Linked DNA regions of Homo sapiens: regions 1, 2, 3, 4, 5 and 7 are each linked to region 6. Evidence: promoter capture Hi-C in 16 types of primary human blood cells and fetal thymus (Javierre and others, 2016). All regions are on one chromosome and are shown on one strand. Each heading gives the region's core, a stretch centred on a gene start or on the middle of the fragment in contact. The rest is flanking DNA. Distances are from core to core; before and after follow the strand shown. Region 1 holds the start of PRR7 (proline rich 7, synaptic). Region 2 has its middle 8.8 kb from the start of MXD3. Region 3 holds the start of PDLIM7 (PDZ and LIM domain 7). Region 4 overlaps B4GALT7 (beta-1,4-galactosyltransferase 7). Region 5 overlaps DBN1 (drebrin 1). Region 6 holds the start of RMND5B (required for meiotic nuclear division 5 homolog B). Region 7 overlaps RGS14 (regulator of G protein signaling 14).

Region 1 (3,069 bases), core at 353-2,852, 680 kb after region 6:
AAACTTACCTTGCGCAACTGTTGTAAAAAAAAATTAGGAGATAATGGATGCAGAGCACTCAACACAGGTCTCACAGAGCAGGAAGGGAATGAAAGGCACCCGTGAGTAATTCCCCAGGCGCCCCTGCCTGCAGGAGACTCAGGCCTGACCTCCAGGGCACCACCCATCTAAGGGCATCTTATGCCAAGGCCTCCAATGCCCCAGATGCCAGTCACCTCTAGGATGCCTCCCCGGATGGGAAAGGAAACCCAAGGACGGTTGTGGTCGCTGGGATCCTGGATCTGAAGCCCGCGGTCGGGGCTGGCATCTGCTGAGTCAGGCCTGGGAGAGCTGGCAGGAGGGCCATTTCTCTCTCCAGCATGATGCCCGCTGAGGGGAGGTTGGGAGGGGAGCCAGAGGTCATTTCCTCTGAGTCAGAGGCCATTCTCCTCCCAGAGGAGCTCCCCTGGCGGACCAGGCACCTCCATGTGGCGCGTGCCTCCCTGCCGGCCAACCTGCATGCTACTCAGTACAGTTGGGGCATTGTGCTCAGACAAGAAAGGGGCACTTGTGATCCAGACAATGGGCTGGGTCGCTCCCATTTGGCCTGGGCTTCAGCTTCCCTGGGTCAGCAATATCCTTTCCTCTGCTCCTGCCCACTCTGCTTCCACCCCTCCCTGGAGAATGGTGGCTAGGAACACGGAGCAGAGACTCACCGCGGGCCCATGCCCGGTTTGGCACGTGCCTCGGCCGTGAGGAGGAGGAGGGATGCAAGCTTCGCTCCTCTACCCTGGTAAGAAACGTCGCCCCTGGGGAACCCAGCTCGGCTCAGGCCATGTCCAGGGCCGGCGCGATTAGGTGGTGGCGGCGGTGGGTGGGTGGGTGGGGGGTCTATGGGCAAAGACCCCAGCGCCAGCCTCCATGCCTCCTCCTCCCGTGACAAGCCCAGGGGCTGGGCCGCCCCCACGTTTGCAGCCACCCCAGGAGCCCTGCTGCGACGACTGCAGCCACGTGGGAGCCAGCTCGTGCCCACGGCCGTTCGCCCCCACCCCCACCCTCGACGGGCTGTGGAGGCAGGCACACCCAGCCGGGCCAGAGGGGCGACATGCCCCCGCCGCGCACCCCTCTCCCCCTGCACCCCCGGGCTGTGGGCCCGCGTCGGGGGAGGGGGGAGGGAGGGGGAGGGGGCGTCGCCGCCCCGCAGTCGTGTTGCCGGGGAGCGCAACCCCGTTGCTGTGGCAACCGTTTCCAAGCGAACTGGTGGCGGCTCGCGCCCCGTTCCGGCTCCCTCGCTCACTGGCGCTCTCCCTCCCTCCGGTGTGGACTGGGGGAGGGGCTGCTCGCGGCCCGGGCGGGGGACCGGGGCGGCGACCCGGGGCCAGGGCGCTGAGCCGCCCGCGGGGAAGGGCTCAGTCCTGGGACCATCTTCCGCCCGCGCTCCGTGCCCGCCCGGCCCGCAGCCGCCGCGGTACTCACGGGCCCAGGCATCCTCCTCGAGCTCGTTCTCCTGGCTCGGGGCGAGCAGCGCGGGCCCAGCGGACAGAGCCCCGGGCCTGCGGGGGGAGGCGGCGGCGGCCCGGGGGAGCAGACAGTGGCAGCGAAAGCGGCTCCGAGCGCTGGGCTGGAGGCGCGGGGCGCGCGCACGGGCGCGTACACGGCGGGTGCTGAGCCCGGCGTGCGCGCGCGCGGCAGCCGGCAGAGGGCCCCGCACCCCCAGCCACACGCCGCGAGGAGGCTGCCCCCGGAGGGAAGGAGGGGGAGGACGGTCACCCACCTGCGGCGCCGAGACCCGGTTCTCCAGCCCGCCGGGCTCACACCCGCCAGGGCACCCTCACAGGGGAGGCACACGCCGGCCGACCCGGTCCACACTCCAGGCTGGAGCCCAGGCCACACCGGTCGTGCACGCTGGATGCACAGCCAGGCAGCTGAGGTCGAGAACCCGGACGCGCACACAGCTCAGCTCGGAGAGCACACACATGTCCAGGTCCCCGTCACATCCTGACAGGCGCTGCGCACACGCAGTGGGCAGGGGCCCCCGAGCAGGCAGGCACCCCAACGTGGCTCCCTCCCAACTCACGACCCCTCTCGCTAGGTGCCCAGCAGGCGTACACCACCACATGCCTACTAGGAAGCCACGGGGAGGAGGACCTAGTGCCGAACCCACAGCCCTGGCCTCCGTGGACATGCCTCCCCCCTACCCCAGCAGGGAACAGATGACCCCTAGAGAGCGCCCCACTGTCTACCCCGAGGTCCAAGCTTGCAGAGGCCACTCTGAAGTTGGCTGTCCATCGGCCTCTTAACTGGGCTGTTTTTCGTCCAACTTCTCTACTGCACTTAAGATGATTTGCCAAAAACCCCTCCACCACCATATTAGCTGGAACATTTGGGGTTGAAGTGACAGAACTCCCAAACAAATAGGTTTGAGCTGTACCCCGTCTCTACCAAAAAAAAAAAAAAATCTGCACGCCTGTGGAGAATCGCTTGAATCCGGGAGGCAGAGGTTGCAGTGAGCCGAGATCACGCCACCGCACTCCAGCCTAAGGGAGGGGGTGAGACCCTGTCTCAAAAAAAAAAAGAGAAAGAAGAAAGAGAAAGGACAGAAAGAAAGAAAAATAAAAGAGAAAGAAAGAAGAAAGGAAAGAAAGAAAAGAAAGAAAAAGAGAAAGAAAAGAAAAAGCTTTGAGCTCAAAGGGGACTGGTTCATGCAACTGGCAAGTCCCAGGGTAGATTCTAGCTTTGGTCACAGTTGCTTCCAGGTGTTCCCGCAATGGTGTCAGGCACGTATCTGCTTCTGTTTGCATCACTCTCAGGCAAGCTCACCCCAAGAAGTAGCGAGGACAACCCCAACAGCCCTAGGCTCATATCCTGCCATCTATCCCTGGAGGAAAACGGAACCCCAATTCCTTCCCCATCATTTGAGCAAAATACAAGCAAACAACTCCATGAATGATTCTTTTTGGACTCATTTGGGCTGAGTCTCTATCAGTGAACCAATCTAAGTGCCTGTGTGTTAAGGGAGAGGATATGTGCTCCTTATGCAAAGGGAATGGCCTCCCAGTACCCGCTCCCTTTTCTTTGTATACAGGCACC
Region 2 (3,252 bases), core at 279-2,778, 810 kb after region 6:
TATATATTATGTGTGTATATGACTGAGGAAGCCAAGCTCATAGGCCTGTGGAGTGAAGTGTTTCCTCAGAGACCAGGCATGCTGTTGGAAACATGAGGGAAGAATAAGCAGTTAGAACCACCTGGAGACACGGATATGCAACTTTTTAGTTGACATAAAGGACTCAATATAGGGGTTGATAACAAAATGGATTCACCAAATTAGTTGAAGATCAACTAATTTGAAGATCAGATCAAAGATCAGAGGACCTTGGGAGGAAACACAGAGATGGAGATTTATAAAGAGATTTATAAAGAGGAGATTTTTAAAGAGAATGGGCCCGGCATGATGGCTCATGCCTGTAATCCCAGTACTTTGGGAGGCCGAGGCAGGCGGATCACGAAGTTGAGATCGAGACCATCTTGGCCAACATGTTGAAACCCCGTCTCTACTAAAAATACAAAAAAATTAGCTGGGTGTGGTGGCGTGTGCCTGTAGTCCCAGCTACTTGGGAGGCTGAAGCCGGAGAATGGCTTGAACCTGGGAGGCAGAGGTTGCAGTGAGCCGAGATCGTGCCACTGCACTCTAGCCTGGTGACAGAGCGAGACTCTGTCTGAAAAAAAAAAAAAAATTAAAAAAATACAAAATTAGACGGGCATGGTGGTGCGTGCCTGTAGTCCCAGCTACTCGGGAGGCTGAGGCAGGAGAATCACTTGAACCTGGGAGGCGGAGGTTGCAGTGAGCTGAGATCGTGCCACTGCACTCCAGCCTGGGCAACAGAGTAAGGCTCTGTCTCAAAAAAAAAAAAAAAAAAAAAAAAAAAGAAAAGAAAAAAAGGAATATGGAGAATATAAATGGAAATCAGCAACCAAAAGATAACTGAAAAAATCCTTTGTATCTGGAAACTAAAAACATACTACCAAATAACATTCGGACTTAAGAATAAATCATAATGAAAGCCCCACACTAAAAGAGGAAAGCTTCAGGACCTGGCTAAAGGAAGAGAGGTTTGTGGCTGGAACAAGAACATTTGCAGGGTGCCCGGATCCCTTGAAGAGGACACCCTGACACTGACCGTGGGAACAGCCTACGCTACACATGCAGGCGTTCAGGTGGAGTACTCTTCCCATACTCCAGAGAACAGGCTGAAACTTTTGACTCAGCAAAGGCCAGAAGGAAAAGGGGAAGTGGTTTATCAAGTGCCTGCTGGAGCATATAACATCCCAGACACTGAGCACTTGCATACAAGTGACCGACATGGCTGGCCCCACCGCTTGCCAGTGCTGCCTGGTCAGTGGGTTAGACTCATCCCATGACGCTAGCAGGGTAGTTGCTCTTGTTGTCTTTGGAAGGACCTTTTCTCTCCTTTTCTTTTTTGAGATGGAGTCTTGCTCTTGTTGCCTAGGCTTTAGTGCAATGGCACAGTCTTGGCTCATTGCAACCTCCGCCTCCTGGGTTCAAGCGATTCTCCTGCCTCAGCCTCCCGAGTAGCTGGGATTACAGGCATGTGCCACCACACCCGGCTAATTTTGTATTTTTAGTAGAGACGAGGTTTCTCCATGTTACTCAGGCTGGTATCAAACTCCCGACCTTAGGTGATCCACCTGCTTTGGCCTCCCAGAGTGCTGGGATTACAGGCGTGAGCCACCATGCCCGGCCATGGAAGGACTTTTTCAAGAAACCGATGTGGTCAGTTTTCCGTATACCTCCAGGTGTTCTGTTCTGGCGTCTGGGTGCTCCACCAGCACGGAGAAAGACGAGTGCCCTGTGGCCTGAGTCCCAGGCACTGAACACTCTAGCCTGGGCAGCAGCTCCGGGAGGACTCAGCTTCCCGAGCACCGCCCTCAGGTTGGGAATCCACAGCAGCACCCACAACACACCACACAGTGCACCAGCCATCAAGGGGGCGCACAAATGACCAGGGCTGCCTTCCAGGCAATGGCCACTGCCTGGTGGATCCAGTTAGTAAGCCAAGAGCAGTTTGAGGACATACCATCTCCATCTGGCATCAAACCACCCTGCTCACTGCGCCAGTTGTTGTAAGGACACCTTGGATTTGTTGTCCTTAGATATGATGTAACAGACACAGAAATGACTGCCATGGTGGGAAGAAGCTTATACTCACAGTTCCCTAGAAACAGGCGGCACCGCACACTAACACGGGCCACACGGGGAAGCACCAGTGTTGGTCGGGGGCAGAGGGAGGGAGGGGAACTGTGGGGCAAGAGCCTTTATTGTGGTTTGCTTAGGAAGGAACCTGAGAGGCAGAGTGAGCAGGTCTAGGATTGCCTAGCTTGAATAATTTCAATGGGTTTGGGGTAGGATGTCCCTAGTTGTCCAGTCTCTGGGGGATAGTGGTGCAGCGTGTAAGAGCCCAGTAAAGGAGGTGGTTGGAAGGTATGGGCTCTGGATTGGTTAGTATGAATATGAAAGGCACGGCACGCTTGCAGGTGAGTGAGTGAGTTACTATCTCTAGGAATTGGATGAGAGGATGGAGTATGATGAACCTTTGATTCCTGGAGGGCCATGAGTTCACTGTGGTATGGAAATGCAGCTGTGCTGTGATCAGTTAGTGGAGGCAAAAATTAATAATGAATTTTAGAAATGATGGATGCAACTCCCAAGGAGTTAGTTCACTGGACGTATAAGGAAATGCAAAGTAACTAGAAACAAGCTAAATATACCATCCTATTGTTCTCTGTAGCAACAATGAAGGCAAAAGATGGTGATAGGGCAGATCCTGAGATTGGGCCAAGCTTGGATTGTGGCTGGTCTGAGCTACAGCTATTCCCAGGGCCACTTTTGAGGGGGAAAATTATGCTGAAACAACAGTGAAGATGGTTAGAATGATTCACAAGAGAGTGGGGAAAACAAAGGGAAGAGTCAAGATACTCATCCCAGCAGGATGGAATCTTTAAAGGGTTCTTAATGAAATGGACTGAATAAAGTAGGCATTGATGGGGTCAAAACAAAGGTCATCTCCAACACCCTTGGAAGTCCTTGGGTGGACAGATGGGAGCTTCTGCTGGTCCCCCACTATTGAAGGGCCCTAAACAAATCTGATTTACTCACCTTAGTTTGGAAGATTTTAAAATGTTAGAGGGAGGCCGGCCTGTAATCCCAGCACTTTGGGAGGATCACCTGAGGTCAGGAGTTCGAGACCAGGCTGACCAACATGGTGAAACCCCATCTCTACCAAAAATACAAAAAAATGGTCAGGCGTGGGGGCACACGCCTGTAATCCCAGCACTTTGGGAGGCTGAGGCGGGCGGA
Region 3 (3,122 bases), core at 27-2,526, 630 kb after region 6:
AGGGGGTGAGCATAAAGAGAGGCGACATCAGATGGCCAAGGCCAGAGGCAGAGGAGGATGGGAAGGAGGGGCCAGTGGGGCAGGGGGAAGCTGTGAAGCCAGGGAAAAAGGGTGTTTCGCGGAAAAGGATCAACCTGGACCAGTGCTGCCCCTAGGCAGGGCAGGATGAAACTTAACCACCACGGATTCCATGGCCCCATGGCCTCCAGGCCACAGGGGACCTTGAGAAGAGAGATCTCAGGGGACGGGTGCGGACAAGAGCCCGCCTGGCATGGCTTCAAGAGATAACTGAAGGAAAGCAAGTGGAGACGCGATAAACAGACAACTCCCTGGAGGAATTTTACTCTCGAGAGGAGAATTAAAGGGTAGTAGCTGGAGAGGGATGTGGGGTCAAGAGAAGGTCTTTAACGACGAGAACTCTCACGGCGGTTTGTGCAGAACAGGGTGGGTGTGATGACTGTGGATGGAGAGGGGAGAACTGCAGCGACTCTGTCCTAGGAGGAGGTGATGGGCCGGGACCACCAAGCGAGTGGAGGGTGGACGCCCCTTCCCTCACCCCGACACCCGCATGTGCTCAGTGTCCGTGCCGCCGGCCCTAGTGCCTGGGCTGAACGCGGGGCCGGGACTCTGAGGACGCCTCCCAGGCGGCGCAGTCCGCTCTGGCCAAGGTGGAGCGGGACGCGGCGCTTCCGACGGTGCGCGGGTCGGCTCGGGGTTGCAGGGACATCCGGCGTCCGCTCCTGCCCTGTTTTCCTGCCTTCGGCAGAGCGTTGCGCAACTCTAGCTTTAAACGCCCCTGTCCCCCTCAACTTGTCTCCCCCAGCCCCTCTGATTTACAGATTCTGCAGTCCCCGAGGGTTGCGCCTACGATACCGACACTCGCGGCAGCCCTGCGAGGCGAGTATGATCGTCCCATTTTTCGGAGTAGCAAACTAAGGTTCAGAGACTACTATGTCCCAGGTCGGTCTGGTTTGAAGGTCCGCTTTCCTCTCCCTCCGCCAGCGGGCGGTGCGAGGGACTGGGCGAGGCAGCGCTTCCCTAAGGAGGCGACCCGCAGCCCCGGCCCCCTCCCGACTCCGCCCCGTTGCAGGGCCCGGGTCGGCGAGGCCTCTCAGCTCTAAGCCCGACGGGACTTGGTGATTGGGCAGGACGGAAGAGCTGGGTGGGGCTTTCCACCAGCGGAGAAAGTCTAGTGGGCGTGGTCGCGACGAGGGCGTGGCCTGGTGCCCCGCCCCCGTCCGCGCGCTCAAAGTGGAGGGTGGCTGTGGGGGCGGGGTCAGAACACTGGCGGCCGATCCCAACGAGGCTCCCTGGAGCCCGACGCAGAGCAGCGCCCTGGCCGGGCCAAGCAGGTATCGACGACCGCGCGGGGCGTCTTGGGCTGCACCAGGCGGGCGCCCGGGGCCTGCTGAGGACCACAAAGGGCACTGGGGGTCGTGGTCCAGGCTGTGCTTCCTCCCGCTGGCCCTGGCCCCTGCCTCCGCCCCCGCCCCCGCCTTCCTGCCGCTAAGCCGGCTGCGGCGGGGCCGATTGGCGCCTGCGCCGCTTCCTGCGGCCGGGGCCAGTCTAATGCATGGGGCCCGGGCGGGGGACTAAGGGGAAACTGAGTCACGTCGGTGTGGGAGCAGTTCTGTGTGGGAGGCACCACCCCCCACTGGGCTCGGGGAAGGATCCCCCTCCAAGCTATGCTTGAGGGTCCCAGCCCCCATCTGTCTCCACAGGGGCCGCACCCCACTCCCGCCTTCCCCTTCTTCAGCACCCAGGGGTCCCGCCCTGGCTCCCAGCAGCCTCGACTGGTCCCGGAATGGCTAGGAGGATCCGCTGCAGCCGCCTCCCTCCCCTCCCCTCCCCTCCCCTCCCCTCCCCCCCCCCTCGCGTCCCAAGCCCCCGTGTGCTCCCTCCGCTGGCTCTCCGCACAGTGTCAGCTTACACGCCTTATATAGTCCGAGCAGGCTCCAGCCGCGGCCTGCCTGCCGGGACCTGGGGGCGGGGGAGAGGAGAGCCGGCCCCTGACTCACCCGGCCGCCCGAGGCTCCAGGCTGGCTTGGGGGGAGGCCGCGCCAGTTTAGTCCCTCGGCCCACCCCTGGTTGCAAAGAACCTCAAGCCTGGATTCAGGCACCCCTCACCGTTCCAGTCCCAAGGGGAGGGGGGCTGCTCCTGTCTTTCCAAAGTGAGGTCCGCCAGCCAGCAGCCCAGGCCAGCCTGACAAAATACCTGCCTCCTATGGCTTGGGCGTGCTCAGGGGCTGCCCGTGCCTGCCTGGCCCCTGTCCAAGGCTGGTATCCTGAGCTGGCCCGGCCTGCCTGCCTGCCCGCCCACCATGCTGGCCACTCACCTTCTCTTCTCTCCTCTCAGGAGCCGGCATCATGGATTCCTTCAAAGTAGTGCTGGAGGGGCCAGCACCTTGGGGCTTCCGGCTGCAAGGGGGCAAGGACTTCAATGTGCCCCTCTCCATTTCCCGGGTGAGCCTAGGTTTGGGGAGGGGGCTCCCCCAGCGGTCTTTCGGTGCTTAGGTCTCCAGAGGGTGATGGGGGGAGTCCTAACAGGAGCTGGTCAGGGGCCAGCAGGCCAGGAGATGTCTAGGTCCGGAGATGTAGTGGTACCTGCCTGCCACAAGGACTCCCAATGAGGTGGATACTGGGAGGGAGCACCCAGGCTTCTCCAGCCCTGCACTGTACCCGATGCTGTTCTCCCAAGCTCCTGTGGCCACCTCTGAGGGCTGGAGGGAGGCTCATTGTGCAGGATGGGAGCCTAACATTTCAGGAGGTATCTAAACTTGAGGTGGCAATGCTTGGAGCCAGGCCCCAGGCAGGACACTGTGACTATAGGATTTCACTTCAGCCTCACTGCCGCCCAGGGAATAGCAATCCTCATCCCGTTTTTCCAGATGAGAGAAGAACTCATGGAGAGGTGGCGGGGCTCGCTCATCGAGTCCATGGTGAAGCAGGGATTGGAATTGAGGCACAGCATGGCGTACATTTTTTGTGGGTAGAAGGGGTCTCTCCCCAGCCTATGTAAGGACCCACATCCACTGTTCCCATTCAGGATGTGGTGGCCTTTGACCCCAAGCAGAAGTGTAGGACAGGGCTCCATTCTAGGGGCTTAACTTCAGCTTCCAAGA
Region 4 (3,315 bases), core at 109-2,608, 520 kb after region 6:
ATCTCCACCATGCCCCTGTTTTCCTCTCAGCCCTCCCCATCTGCCCTTTCCAGCAGGGGAGAGGAGGGAGGCCTGTAGGGAAGGAACACCTGCTCATGGGCACCTGCTGTACAGGGCAAAGGGGAAGAAACCTGGCTCTGAAAGTGGATTCCAGGGGTTCCCAATCCCAGCCCCCCATCCCTTACAGCTCTGCGACCTTGGGCAAGCTACTTGCCTGTCTGTGCTTTGCCTTCCTGATGTACAGAACCAGTGAATTAGGACCCAGCTCTTAGGTAGGGAGGCCTAAGTGAAATGCGGTGTGGAGAATTTGGTTATCTGGTGAATGTTCAACAAGGGATGGTTATTATTATTGCAACCACCGCCTCACTGGCCAAGCGCTGTGCCAGGTGCTCCTACATCCTGGGTAGGTTTCGGCCACGCCCTGGCCAGCAAGGCAGGGATGTCAAGTCCATTCCACGAAGGAGGCAAGTGGGGCACTGAGGCGGCACAGGACTGCCGCTTCTCGCCACCCATGGCTCAGGCGTCTCCCACTCTCCTGGAGAGTGGTGGAGGCCCAGGATGCAGAGTGAGGGGAGCTGCAGATTTGGAACGCGTCAGGCCCAGCCTGGAGTGCCCAGCACAGCCTTGAAGATGGAGGTGGGGGTGGCGGTCAAGGGAAGCAACAGGCTGCAGGGCTAGGGATGCACCTAAGCTCAGGTGTCAGCTGATCTCAGAAGGTGGAGGGACCTTCGCTTTTCTTCTGCTCATTGCACTCCCCCAGTGCAGGTGGAAAGGAAGGAACCTCCATTTTCTGAGGTCTTCCTATGTGACAGGAGAGTGCAGAGCTGGGAGCTTTGATATTACACCTGTTCCCACCAACTCCCAAGAGCTGGTGTTACTGCCTGGTGTCCATGTCAGTCCAAGATGAAGCAGCTGGGATTGTCCAGGGAACTGGCACAGTCCCCTCTCCACCACCCCTGCACTAGAGTCGAGGCCTGTCTGCCCATCACAATAGTGGGTGTGGCTGAATCGATGGGGAAGGTCAATTTAGGATCACAAAGACCCTGGACTAAACACCTGAACCTGAAGCTTTACCCCAGCCCTTTCTGCTTAAATCCCTCGGCTTATACACAGGTTACACAGTGCGCAACCCACACAACTGCACACAGCAGCCCTGATCATCCTCAGAGAAGTCTTTTGAACCAGAGCTGTGGATTCCACCTTCCTGAGCTCTGGGATGGTGCTCAGGAATCCCTTCCTTCAGGACTCCAGGTGTCCTGGTGTTAAAACAAACCCACATTACTGGGGCCTGATGGTCTCCTCTGCCTTCTGCCTTGCATCTTTGGCAGCCAAATGCCTTGGAGTGGCCTACATGCAGGGTCCCTTGCCTCCCACTCTCATGGGCTCTGGGCTTCCCTCCAAGTGATTCCCCCAAGAGCACTCCCCAGTTCATGTCTTCTCACTGCTCCTGGGCATTCAGTGACCACTGTAATCCCTCTGTGCTGAGGGAACACCACAGGGATCCTCCCACTTCTCCCCTTCTCCTCCCCACTCAAGCCATGACCCGAGGCACCGGCTGAGTGCCCTGCCTGCCTCTCTCCAGTCCTGTGGGTGAATCTCCTCAGCCACTCTCCCTCCTCCGTGTCTCAGTGAGGCCGGAGGAAGCTTACCCAGAGAGAGCCTGAAGGTGGTAAGACTGCTCAGAAGGGCATTCGGGGGCTGCCCAGAAGCCTTGGTGGGGTGGAGGTAGTACAGGAACCCTCACACCTTTGGCTTCTCCTCCCCCCTGGACTTGTCGTCCCCGCCCCACCCCAATTCCTTGCCAGCTTGTAACTCACCCGTCCCCTTGCCCCTCAGCCAAAAGTGACATGTGAGCGGTCCACGACACATTTTGTCTGGCCTGCCATACTTTTTGAAAGTTTCATTTAGGTGCTATCATTTAAAAAATCAGAAGATATCACTTAAGAATCCAGCATTCTAGTTTCTTTCGAAAAATCAGAAGATCTGGCAACACTAGGCCCACATTCCGGCATGGCAACAACCAGCTAGAGCGGTGCTGGCTGTTCCCCCTCTGTGGGGCTTGTGCTCTGGTTTCTGAAGTCCTAACCCTCACCAGGCCCAACTGCCACCTACGCCAGCTGCATGGCCCCTACACTGTGTCTCTGCACGAGGCAGCCCAGCAGGAAGGAACAAAAGTGGGGGTGATGAGAGGTTGTCCTGTTCAGCCCTCCCCACTACCCACAGGCCTGGGCACGTGAAGGAGGTCAGAGTAGGGTGAGCAGGAAGGCAGGGGGGGTCCCGGACAGGACACACCCCAGCCTCTCTCTGATCACTGTGCATGGCAAGCAGCGTCCCAGGCACCCCACGTGTCCTGGCCCAGCCCAAGCCTGCCTTGGCGGCCGGGTGGCTGCAATTGCGTAGCTTGCTGTCTTGGTCCTGGCCACTCCACATCCTGTCAGAGCTGGGCCCACGACCTGAGGCCTTGTCCTGAGCCTGAGCAATATGGCCTGTAGGTACAGGCTTCCTCACTGTCCATCCAGCTCAGCTGAATGTGCACCAGGGTGTGGCGGTCTTGTCACAGTCCAACATGATGTTGAGGACAGTGCAGGGGGCCCCGCCCACAGACAGGGCAGTGCGGGAAGCCACATGGTACTTCACAGTGTTCAGGCCTCCCTCCCTGTCCACCTTGAACTGCTCCTGGGGAGGAAGAGAGGAAAGAGCACGGACTCAGGGCTGCATGGGTGCCAGCTACCCACTGACCCCACACAACCTCGCCATCAGAGGTCCTGTGGTCCCCACTGGAGAGGAAGAACCCAGAGCTCAAAGCAGTGAAGCCTCTTGCCCAGGGCTGTGCCCCACTAGGAAGCAGGCGAGCCGGGATCTCCAGTTGGATGCATAAGCCTCCTAGAGAAGGGGCTGTTTGAGGGTGGGATCCCTGCATCCCGGGTGTGGCTGGGATTCTGGCACCTTCAGCTACGCCTCCGCCACCCCACCCTGCCAGCCTGCATGGACCCTGAGGTCTGGGCTGACCCACAGTGCCCAGGGTGCCCACAGCAGCCACCAGAGCAGGGCACGGTGCCCAAGCAGAATGCCCGTCGACTGACCTGGGCCAAGCAGGGGAGGATGGGACCATTTGGGCCAAGGAGAACTTGGTGAAAGCCCGGGCCTGCTGGCTCCCCACATGACCACCTATCTGTCCCCAATGAGGAGCCCTGCCAGCACCTGTTTTTGAGCTGCGATGCGCTTCTGGTCCCTCTTCCGCCAGGCTGGGTCATGCAGGTGGCGAAATGTCTTGTACCCAGTTGTGATTCCCGAGGGGCGGAAAAGCTAGGGAGG
Region 5 (3,372 bases), core at 624-3,123, 660 kb after region 6:
CCTAGGGGCTGGAAGGCCTGGAGCTCAGGCTTGGCCACCCCGGGGCCAGAGTCTGGGCGAGAGTGACTGCAGTGACCTCATCCCCATTTCAGAGAGGCGGAGATTGAGGCTGAGGGCGGGTCCCCAGGGTCCTTTGTGTTCAAGGAGAATGCAGTTGGGGTGGGCCAGTCGTGTGCCAATTGCAGGGTTGCCATGGTTACTGGGGGATGCCCAGAGCTGTTGGGAGCACCAGGTTCTCTCTTCTCCTCCTCCCTCCCCGGGGGAGGGGCAGCGGGGACCAAGGCACGTGCCAGGTAAGTTCCTGGCACTAGCCAATGGGGGATGAGGATCCTGGTAGCCAGGGAACGGTAACCAAGGAACCGTCGCCTTGGAATCTCCATCACACACCCGCTCCACTGGGTTGTAGGCTGCCAGGGCCAGGGCCGGGATGCTGCGCACTGAGCTCGACCAGCCAGCAATTTCTCCCCTCACTGCCTGCGCCCCCCTGACCCAGGCCTCCAGCAGTACCCTGCTGGGCTCCCGCCTGAACCGATGCCTGGCCCTGTTGTCATGGCTACAGCAGGAGCCCTCCCCGTTCCTGTCCTACCCACTCCATGTCCCTCTCCCTCCCCAGAGCCGTCCCCACCCAGAATTGGCGGCCTGGGCCCTGACAGTTTGACAGCCACCCCTCCCTCTCCCCAGGGCTCTGTACACATATGAAGATGGCTCCGATGACCTCAAGCTTGCAGCATCAGGAGGTAGGAATTCCAGCCATTCCCTCGCCGCCTTCTCCACCCCCTCCTCCTGGTTGTTTTCTTCCCCACCCACCTGGCTGTAGGCCACCTCCCTGCCTGCACCCTGCAGCCCCACACTTGTCTGGATCTGGCGGGTGTCCTTCCTCCAGTCATCCCTGTGTCCCCAGGGTGGGGAGGAATCTCAGAGCCTTGTTGAATGTTGGACTTCTGAGGCTGAGCCTCCAACAGGGAAAGTGACTTATCTGAAGCCACACAGCTGGGACACTTTGGGGGAAGGGCCCTATTCACCGCCTTCCCCAGAGCCAGAAGGCTTGATTGTGCCTCTGGGCACTGGCACCTGGTGAGACATGATGATGTGTGAAGAATGAGACCTGAGTGTGAAGAACAAACACTTCCTCAGTCCTACCCCCAAATCAGGCCCTGCAGGAGTCACAGGCAAAGCTACATCCCTGTGCGCCACCACCCCCACACATACCAACACAAAACTGGGACCCACAGACCCCAGAGGCCAGAAGACCCCTGGGGGTGCCTGTGGAGGCCTGGAGGAGTCTTTGCTTTGAGTTCCAGGCTCTTTTTGGGAAGGGTTTAGGAGGCAGAGAGACCTGACACTCTCCTGATTACCCTAGAAGGGGGCTTGCAGGAGCTTTCGGGACACTTTGAGAACCAGAAGGTGATGTACGGCTTCTGCAGTGTCAAGGACTCCCAAGCTGCTCTGCCAAAATACGTGCTCATCAACTGGGTATGCGGCCGGGGCTGGGGAAGGGGGCTGAGGGCCCAGAGCTGCTCATCAACTGGGTATGCGGCCGGGGCTGGGGAAGGGGGCTGAGGGCCCAGAGCTGCTCATCAACTGGGTATGCGGCCGGGGCTGGGGAAGGGAACTGAAGGCCCAGAGCAGTCGCCCTCCCCGTCGGCCCTCTGACACCCGTGGAGAGGGAAGCCCACCCTCTTCCCACCCCGGGGAAGATGCACCCTATCGTGTAGGGCCCCCCTTGTCCTTTCCTGACCCCCTCTTTGCTGGGTACTTTGCAGGTGGGCGAAGATGTGCCTGATGCCCGCAAGTGCGCTTGTGCCAGCCACGTGGCTAAGGTGGCGGAGTTCTTCCAGGTGCGTGTCAGGGGCCAGCGCTCTTGGGGGTGGGGACAGCCACCAGGGTCTGCGTGCTGGGGTGGGGATGGCGGGAGGATGGTGCCGCCTGAGCACTGCCGTCTTCTTGCGGAAGGGTGTCGACGTGATCGTGAACGCCAGCAGCGTGGAAGACATAGACGCGGGTGCCATCGGGCAGCGGCTCTCTAACGGGCTGGCGCGACTCTCCAGCCCTGTGCTGCACCGACTGCGGCTGCGAGAGGATGAGAACGCAGAGCCCGTGGTTAGTGTGTGTTTGGCACCCGTGGGCTCTGCCTGCGTGGCCTGGTGCCCGAGTCTGGCCTGCCCGGTCCCTCTTAGCTCTCACCCTTTAGGTGTCGGGGGTTCCTGGGGCATTCAGCCTGCTTATGCTGGGTCCTTCGACACTGCAGGGCACCACCTACCAGAAGACGGATGCAGCTGTGGAAATGAAGCGGATTAACCGAGAGCAGTTCTGGGAGCAGGCCAAGGTATGGAACCCTGAGCCCGGCCTGGCTGAGCCACCCCTCATGGACCCCATGGGGCAGGTCTGAGTCCCTCACTGCAGTGGCATGGCCCATGCCACGTGCCCCGCCCCCAGCGCTGGGTTAGGGAGGGGCTGGAGGGGCAGGGTCCAGGCGCCTAGGCTCGGGGCCTACCCTTGTTCGCACCGGGGCTTGCAGAAGGAAGAAGAGCTGCGGAAGGAGGAGGAGCGGAAGAAGGCCCTGGATGAGAGGCTCAGGTTCGAGCAGGAGCGGATGGAGCAGGAGCGGCAGGAGCAAGAGGAGCGCGAGCGGCGCTACCGGGAGCGGGAGCAGCAGATCGAGGAGCACAGGTGAGCCTGCCCGCCCGGAGCGCTCCAGGGGCCCCCGGGCGCACCCTGACGGGTGCTGGCTGCTTATCGTTCCAGGAGGAAACAGCAGACTTTAGAAGCGGAAGAGGCCAAGAGGCGGTTGAAGGAGCAGTCTATCTTTGTAAGTTCTTTGCCAAGGCTCCCGGTCTCTGGGTCAGGGAAGTGAGAATGGTCCCTGTGTTCCTGGGCCTTGTGGGGAGATCAGTGGCTCAGGGACAGTGGTGGCTGTTCTGGGGAGCTGCATGGGCACAGGGTGCCATGGAGCATGAGGCCTGGCACCTCATCACGTGGGGCTCTGGCCTCTGGCCGTGGAAAAAGACTACTTTGGAGAAGCTTGTGCTCTAGATTGGAAGAGAAACTCCATCTAGACCCAGACCCTCACTGACCAGGCTCCCCCTCCCCTGCCCTGGGGTTTCTCGGCGATTAGACACTGTTCTGCACTCTGAGGGGCCACAGGAGTGAGGCAGGCGGCATGGGTGAGCCTGGGCCAGTGCTGAGCATCTGCAGGCAGTGTGTACCATCTCCTTGGGAGCAGCATCTCCCTGGGAGCAGCCCCTTTGTTCCAGGGGTACTGTCTGAATCTCCACACATTGGGAATGGCCCGTAGGTCCTGTGGATTGGTCCCTGAGAATCACAGCAGAGTCACATCTCCATGCTTTGAATTTAGTATTTTGGAAATAGCTA
Region 6 (3,015 bases), core at 243-2,742:
CTTTTGTCCCTATTCTTCCCCTCTCTCCCCACCACACCTGGCTAATTTTTTTGTTGTTTGTTTTTGAGACAGAGTCTTACTCTGTCGCCCAGGCTGGAGTACAGTGGCACGATCTTGGCTCATTGCAACCTTTGCTTCCCAGTTTCAAGCGATTCTCCTGCCTCAGCCTCCCAAGTAGCTGGAATTACAGACACCTGCCACCACACCCGGCTAAATTTTGTATTTTTAGTAGAGACGGGGTTTCACCATGTTGGCCAGGCTGGTCTTGAACTCCTGGCCTCAAGTGATCCTCCCGCCTTGGCCTCCCAAAGTGCTGGGGTTACAAGCGTGAGCCACTGCGCCCAGCCTAATTTTTTGGAGCGACAGGGTTTCACCATGTTGGCCAGGTTGGTCTTGAAGTGCTGAGCTCAAGCCGTCTGCCAGTCTCAGCCTCCCAAAGTGCTGGAATTACGGGCGTGAACCACCGTGCCCAGCCAATTCTTATGCTTTTGCAGCCGCGACCTCCATCCACTCTCTACCCTACATGTCACTCCTCTGCTTAAAACCAAAAGATTTCCACTGTACTTAGAAAAAACTCCACATTCCTCTCTCTGACCTACAGACTCTATGTGACCAAACCCCAATTATCCGACCTCATCTCCTACCACTCTTTCCCTTTCTTACCATACTTTAGCCACACTAGCTTGCTTTCTGTTCCTTGACTATACTCTCAGTTGATTTCTGCCCTAGGGCCTTCACACTGGCTGTTCCCGCTGCCTGGACCACTCTCTTCCCGTATCTTCCTAAGCCTGCCTCCTAATTTGGGTCTCAACGCAAATGTCCCGTCCTCAGAGATGCTCTGCTAGACCACAGTATCTAATACTGACCCCTCCGCCCCACCCTCACACCAGTTACCGTGTCATATCGCCCTCCTCCATTTTTTTTTTTTTTTTACTATACAGTCCTACTTGAAGTTTCTAATCTTTCTTTTCTCATTAACCAAAACTGGAGGGAGGAAAAAGCCCATCATTTTCCCTGGACAGCAGCGCCTACTGGGAGTTTCACCCGCATTAACATGCAAACGACAGGCAAACTCCTAGTCATCCTTCCAAAGACCCTGCTCCATAGCCCTGCCGAGCCCGGTGCGCACCTGCTCACTTCCGACCCAGCGCGGTCGCACGAGGACTGGACGTTTGAGTCCGAGCAACTCCCCCCGGCTGAGGCGGCTCTTCGGGGGCTGGGCCGGGACCTATGAGTCTGGGACTCCAGCTCCCGGCCCAGGGCCGACAACTGCGAAGAGAACAAGCCCAAGGGCAGATTGTTCGGGGCTTAGTCGTGGGTAGCAGGGGTTCTGGAGAAGGCTGGGGCCCGGGAGGCCGGCCGAGCTTTCCCCGCCGCGCGCCTCAGCTCCGCCGGCCGCTGTGCCCGCCCTCGGCCCGCACCTGCCGGCTCCCAAGCCCGCCCGCTCTCACCTCGCCCCGCAGCCCCGGCCCCGGCTTCCGGCGCCACTGTCATCGGAACCGGAAGCCGCGGCGGGCGATCGGCGGCCCGGGCCCGCCCATTGGCGGTTTTGCGGAGGGGTGGCCGTCCCACGAGCCCGCGGCTTTGCGCCTCACCGCCGAGGCTCCCCGCCGCGCATGCCGAGTGGAGTCGCCCGCGGGAACCGGGCGGCGGCCAGAAAAGCCGCGCCTGTAGTCCTCTGGGGGTCGCGCCTGGTCGTTTCCAGGTTCCGAGTCCCTCCGGCCCGGCCCCGGGCCTCCCAGTCGGCGGAAGCCCCTGGCCGCGACCGCTCCTCGCCGGCGGGCGGGTTCCCCACCCGGCAGAGGCGTCGGCCTCGCACTCAACCCAGCACCCGACTCCCGGGTCAGAAGCCCCAAGCCCCAAGTGGTTACGCTTACAGCGCTGCCCGCCCTGCTCAGTGAGGGCGGCGCGGGGGCCGTGAGGGGCAGTGGCTGGGCTAGGTGCGCACCGGCCTCGGCAGGGCTGTGGAGCAGGGTCTTTGGAAGGATGACTAGGAGTTTGCCTGTCGTTTGCATGTTAATGCGGGTGAAACTCCCAGTAGGCGCTGCTGTCCAGGGAAAATGATGGGCTTTTTCCTCTCTCCAGTTTTGGTTAATGAGAAAAGAAAGATTAGAAACTTCAAGTAGGACTGTGAACAGGCTTAGGGATCCTGGACAGAGCCTAGAAATCTCAGGAGAACTGAGAGCTCTTGAAATATGAAGTGATGCTTAAAAAAAAAAAGAAAACTCCAGGCCGGGCGCGGCGGCTCACGCCTGTAATCCCAGCACTTTGGGAGGCCGAGGCGGGCGGATCAGGAGGTCAGGAGATCGAGACCATCCTGGCTAACACGGTGAAACCCCGTCTCTACTAAAAATACAAAAAATTGGCCGGGCGAGGTGGGGGGCGCCTGTAGTCCCAGCCACTCGGGAGGCTGAGGCAGGAGAATGTCGTGAACCCGGGAGGCGGAGCTCGGAGTGAGCCGAGACGGCGCCACTGCACTCCAGCCTGGGCGACAGAGCGAGACTCCGTCTCAAAAAAAAAGAATAGAAAACTCCGGGCCGGGCGGCTCACGCCTGTAATCCCAGCACTTTGGGAGGCTGAGGCGGGCGGAACATAAGGTCAGGAGTTCGAGACCAGCCTGTCCAATATGGTGAAACCCCGTCTGTACTAAAAATACAAAAATTAGCCGGGAATGGTGGCAGGCGCCTGTAGTCCCATGATCCTAGCTACTCGGGAGACTGAGGCAGGAGAATCGTTTGAACCCGAGAGGCGGAGGTTGCAGTGAGCCGAGATCGCGCCATTGCACTCCAGCCTAGGCGACAGAGCGAGACTCCGTCTCAAAAAAAAAAAAAAGAAAAGAAAAGAAAACTCCTTTCCTGTCCCAGCCTTTCTGGTCCCCTTAGCCCGAACTTAATCTGCCCACTGGGTATTCAACAGAATTCAGTTCTGCGGAGGAGGGGGTCCAGCCCTACCCTGCCGCCCTGTGTTGGTCGCTGTCCTGGGGAACGGGGGAAGGGGAGAAGATGGGAGCTGCCC
Region 7 (3,191 bases), core at 335-2,834, 760 kb after region 6:
AGCTGTCCTGGACTGTTGGGTAGCTGTCAGAGGGCTGAGTCGGTGGTGGAGTTCAAGGATCCCCCGATGGGCTGGGCTGCTGATTTGGTCTGTGGTGGGGTCTCCTCGGAGCTGGGCCCTTGGGCGGGCAGCTGCAGAAATTCTGGAAGTACCAGGTCCTCTTTCCTCAGAAGGCCCCTCTGGTCGTGGGCCCCGCTGCTCTGCACCCGGTTCAGCAGCTCCACCAGGCCTGGAGGCAAGCCACAGCATGAGGGTCCCCCCAGCAGACCTGCCTATATGCCAGCCCACGATAGTCCCACTGCCTTACTGTGGCCACTGCCTCCCTGGCCCCAGCACCAATGGCCTGCGGCCCCCTGTTCCAGCCCCTTTGACCCCCCAACCCCCATCCTTCCTGTTCCACGCCCAGTGGCACCCAGCCCCCTGCCTTAGCTCAAGGCTCTCTGATGCCACCCTGAATGGTCCCCAACCCCACTGCCCTAGTCTTTCTGATCCCCAGCTCATCCACCATGTACCTTCGATGTCACAGGTCTGCCGCTTTCCAGTGGCACTACTGGGCACCTTCACCAGAGAACTGGGGGACGCTGGAGGGGGATGGGTGGCCTTATCCTGAGTTCTAGGTGGGCAGCCCTGCGAGAATTTGGGGTCAGAGCCAAAATCGGGAGGGGAGAAGCAGAGGGTGGAAGAGGCCACTCGCCTTTCGCTCACCTGGCTGCGGCAGGGAGATTTGTCACGGGCTTTGGAGATCTTCACACCTGCAGCAGAGAGGGCCACAGTTAGTGTTTGCCTCCCACCTGGACCCCCTTCCTCCTGGGCCACAGCTGTTCCAGATCAAGCCCCGAGGCCAGCGTCCCCTACCTGGAAGAGTGTCCAAAACCAGTCTCTGGGCCGCCACCGAGCTCACTAGCTTCCCCAGATCCAGAGGCTGTTTCTCGCCTGGCTGTGGGGAGAGGTCAGCAGCCCGCGGTACAGGCCTCCGCCCGGCCCCGGCCCCGGCCCCGGCCCCGGCCCCGGCCCCGGCCCCGGCCCCGGCCCGGCCCCGCCCCGCCCCGCCCCGCGGCCCGGAAGCTCACCCGGTGCAGCACCACCTCTAGCGGGCTCAAGCCGTGCTTCTCCAGAATGGGCTGCAGCGCCTCCTGCAGCCGCTTGGTGGGCTTGGCTGAGATTCGTACCACGCGCTCCAGCGCCGTCAGCTCCAGCCTGCGAGGAACCCTCGGGCAGCAGAGGGCCGGAGGGCCGGCCCCCCGCCAAACCCTTCCCAGGACAAACGCGAGGGGGTGGAGCTTGAACTGCAGAAGGTGGGACTGGCTTGTAGGGGGCGGGGTTTGTCCCAGGGGCGGGGCTAGCACGAGGGGCGGGGCCTGGGGAGCCAGGTAGCTAGAACAGGGCCTGAAGGGAGCGTCAGGACCTGGGACCCAGACTTGGGGGCAGGACACTCACTCGAAGGTGATCCTGTTTTCCAGCCGCACTTCCTGATCCGCCAGCACGGTGCAGTCCTGATCCAGGACCAGGGCCTTCTGTGGATGCCAGGCAGGGTCTAAGAGTCCCTCCCCCAACCCCCAGCCATCCCTGTGGGTCTGAGAACAACTTCACGCCCTCCCATGGCCACCACTGGGCTTCCTAGAGGAAGGGATGGAGGGTGGAAGAGCTGTAGGGGAGCAAATGGGTTAAGGTACCAAGCTGGAGTCCAAGCCCAGGAAAGCCAAGGCCAGGGAGAAAAGTGGCAAGAATGCTGGACATTCTTGGGAAAGGACAGAAATTACGAGAAACGTAGCTGCTGGCATGAAATGATAAGGGGCAGGCCTAGATCCGGGATCTCTGGCCTACTCTTTCTGTGCCAGGACAGGCTCTGCCTCCAGGACAGCTGTCTCGTGTCCCTCAGGTGTGTGAAATCCGACCAGACCAGCTGGAAGCATTTCCTCCCTCACCACCCACCTTTGACCAACCACCCTGGCCTGGTCCCATTTTTGACATTTGTCCACTTCTCTCCATTCCCCGCTACTAAGGACACTTCTTGTTTCCTCATTCAAAAAGGGCCCACCCTCAAAACTGCTGTGAAACCAGAGGATGTGAAGCATCTGGCACAATGCCTGGCACACAGTAGGTACATAAACAGTAACTCTCGTGATGACCACCTTCAGAGGCCCCACTGCCTGCTCCAGCCTGATGTGGGGGTTGGGGGCAGCATCTCCCAGGCAGTAGGCTTATGCTGTGCTGCAGGAGCAGGTGGAGTGTGGGTGAGGAAGTTATATTTAGCATGTATGAAAGCCCATCTGGGCTGCTGGCAGCCGCCCTAGCGGCCTGAGAAGAGTGGGCAAAATGCCTCCCACTACTGCCCTCGCACCCCTGCACTCCAGGCCCCTGAACATGCCCCGCAAGTACCCACCTGCAGGCCTTTGCCTAAGCTGTTCCCTCTGCCTGGAATATCCTCCCCCACAGCTCTGCCCATCCACATCTACTGCTGCTTCTTCCATGAAGCCTTCCGGACACCAGCCAGAAATGCCTACCCTCTCCCAAGAGACCTTCTCTGGAGTTTTCACTCTTCCTCCTCCCTGATCACTCCCTGCTTGGCTTACTTTCAGCCTGTGGGCCAGGAGGACAGCCCCAGATCTAGGTTCCTCTCCCCCACACACCTGGCAAGGCCTTAGGACTTGTCTACTAGGTAAATGAAATCCCGATGGCCCCCTGGAAGGTAGCATTCTTCCTTGAGATTCCCCTGACTGAATGGTTTCCTTTAAAGCCAGTTTTCCCCTAGGTCTTCTTTAAAGTTTAAGCTAGTTTGCACCTAAAGGAAAAAGTTCATTGGTTAGGTGCACTTGGGTGCCCCTAGAGGCTAAGGAGGTGAGGGCACCCCACGGATGGCCATTTCCAGGATGGGTCTGTGGGGATGGGAGTCTGGACTCTGGGAATGATGAGGGGCAAACCCCAGCTCCAACAGTGGTTCTCTCCAGTTTTACCTCCCTAAGGTCACCACAATAGGATGATGGATGAAGGTGGAAACCTGGAAGGACATGAGGTGGGGGGTGGGTGGATGTCTGAGTGAGTGAAAGTTGGTGCTGAGGGTGCTTTGGAGTTGGGTTTAGAACTTGAATTGGGGTTGGAGCCATGACTGAGCAGAGACAGAAATGGAGTTGGGGTCAGGATCAGGAAGGAGGTTAGAGTTGGAGCCAGGTCACGTTCCCACCTGTTCATTG

Evidence for each region. Contacts are between HindIII fragments. The CHiCAGO score rates a contact against its expected background, and 5 or more counts as called.
Region 1: a contact is called between the fragment with the promoter of PRR7 here and the fragment with the promoter of RMND5B in region 6, in 1 of 17 cell types (naive B cells). The highest score is 5.1, in naive B cells.
Region 2: a contact is called between a fragment that was not itself captured here and the fragment with the promoter of RMND5B in region 6, in 1 of 17 cell types (naive B cells). The highest score is 5.6, in naive B cells.
Region 3: a contact is called between the fragment with the promoter of PDLIM7 here and the fragment with the promoter of RMND5B in region 6, in 4 of 17 cell types (erythroblasts, total B cells, megakaryocytes and 1 more). The highest score is 11.1, in erythroblasts.
Region 4: a contact is called between a fragment that was not itself captured here and the fragment with the promoter of RMND5B in region 6, in 7 of 17 cell types (total CD4 T cells, naive CD4 T cells, naive CD8 T cells and 4 more). The highest score is 8.9, in total CD4 T cells.
Region 5: a fragment that was not itself captured here is called in contact with the fragment with the promoter of RMND5B in region 6 in 1 of 17 cell types (naive B cells); the score reaches 5.0 in naive B cells.
Region 7: a contact is called between a fragment that was not itself captured here and the fragment with the promoter of RMND5B in region 6, in 1 of 17 cell types (naive B cells). The highest score is 5.3, in naive B cells.

Annotation. Positions count from the first base shown.
Region 1 is chr5:177,445,347-177,448,415 of GRCh38, reverse strand. It overlaps PRR7 (proline rich 7, synaptic), which reads right to left and starts at 1,602. Exons shown (of 4, transcript NM_030567.5): 1 at 1,456-1,602. PRR7-AS1 (PRR7 antisense RNA 1) reads left to right here and starts at 472. Exons shown (of 3, transcript NR_038916.1): 1 at 472-772. RefSeq lists an enhancer at 317-945 and a silencer at 888-1,977. The HindIII fragment of the contact is 1,481 bases long and covers 757-2,237 here.
Region 2 is chr5:177,319,024-177,322,275 of GRCh38, reverse strand. No RefSeq gene overlaps it. Among named protein-coding and RNA genes, the nearest start is that of MXD3, 8.8 kb to the right of the region's middle. RefSeq lists enhancers at 1,337-1,836, 1,837-2,338. The HindIII fragment of the contact is 1,134 bases long and covers 962-2,095 here.
Region 3 is chr5:177,495,758-177,498,879 of GRCh38, reverse strand. PDLIM7 (PDZ and LIM domain 7) reads left to right here and starts at 1,276. Exons shown (of 13, transcript NM_005451.5): 1 at 1,276-1,352; 2 at 2,357-2,463. The coding sequence starts at 2,368. RefSeq lists enhancers at 1-402, 621-670, 1,883-2,624 and silencers at 881-1,590, 2,001-2,080. The HindIII fragment of the contact is 22,050 bases long and covers 1-3,122 here.
Region 4 is chr5:177,608,901-177,612,215 of GRCh38, reverse strand. B4GALT7 (beta-1,4-galactosyltransferase 7) reads right to left here. Exons shown (of 6, transcript NM_007255.3): 5 at 3,202-3,306; 6 at 1,886-2,676. The coding sequence ends at 2,521. Among named protein-coding and RNA genes, the nearest start is that of B4GALT7, 10 kb to the right of the region's middle. The HindIII fragment of the contact is 576 bases long and covers 1,071-1,646 here.
Region 5 is chr5:177,466,209-177,469,580 of GRCh38, reverse strand. DBN1 (drebrin 1) reads left to right here. Exons shown (of 15, transcript NM_001363541.2): 2 at 682-737; 3 at 1,361-1,473; 4 at 1,764-1,838; 5 at 1,954-2,100; 6 at 2,249-2,326; 7 at 2,519-2,670; 8 at 2,746-2,809. Among named protein-coding and RNA genes, the nearest start is that of DBN1, 5.7 kb to the left of the region's middle. RefSeq lists enhancers at 298-843, 844-1,389, 1,936-2,481. The HindIII fragment of the contact is 2,300 bases long and covers 724-3,023 here.
Region 6 is chr5:178,129,491-178,132,505 of GRCh38, reverse strand. RMND5B (required for meiotic nuclear division 5 homolog B) reads right to left here and starts at 1,492. Exons shown (of 11, transcript NM_022762.5): 1 at 1,452-1,492; 2 at 1,130-1,269. RefSeq lists enhancers at 1-388, 1,667-2,318, 2,319-2,970 and a silencer at 1,346-1,935. The HindIII fragment of the contact is 11,712 bases long and covers 1-3,015 here.
Region 7 is chr5:177,368,911-177,372,101 of GRCh38, reverse strand. RGS14 (regulator of G protein signaling 14) reads right to left here. Exons shown (of 15, transcript NM_006480.5): 9 at 3,182-3,191; 10 at 1,438-1,511; 11 at 1,071-1,197; 12 at 856-937; 13 at 706-752; 14 at 513-627; 15 at 1-229. The coding sequence ends at 27. Among named protein-coding and RNA genes, the nearest start is that of RGS14, 13 kb to the right of the region's middle. RefSeq lists enhancers at 2,301-2,370, 1,919-2,770. The HindIII fragment of the contact is 3,760 bases long and covers 1-3,191 here.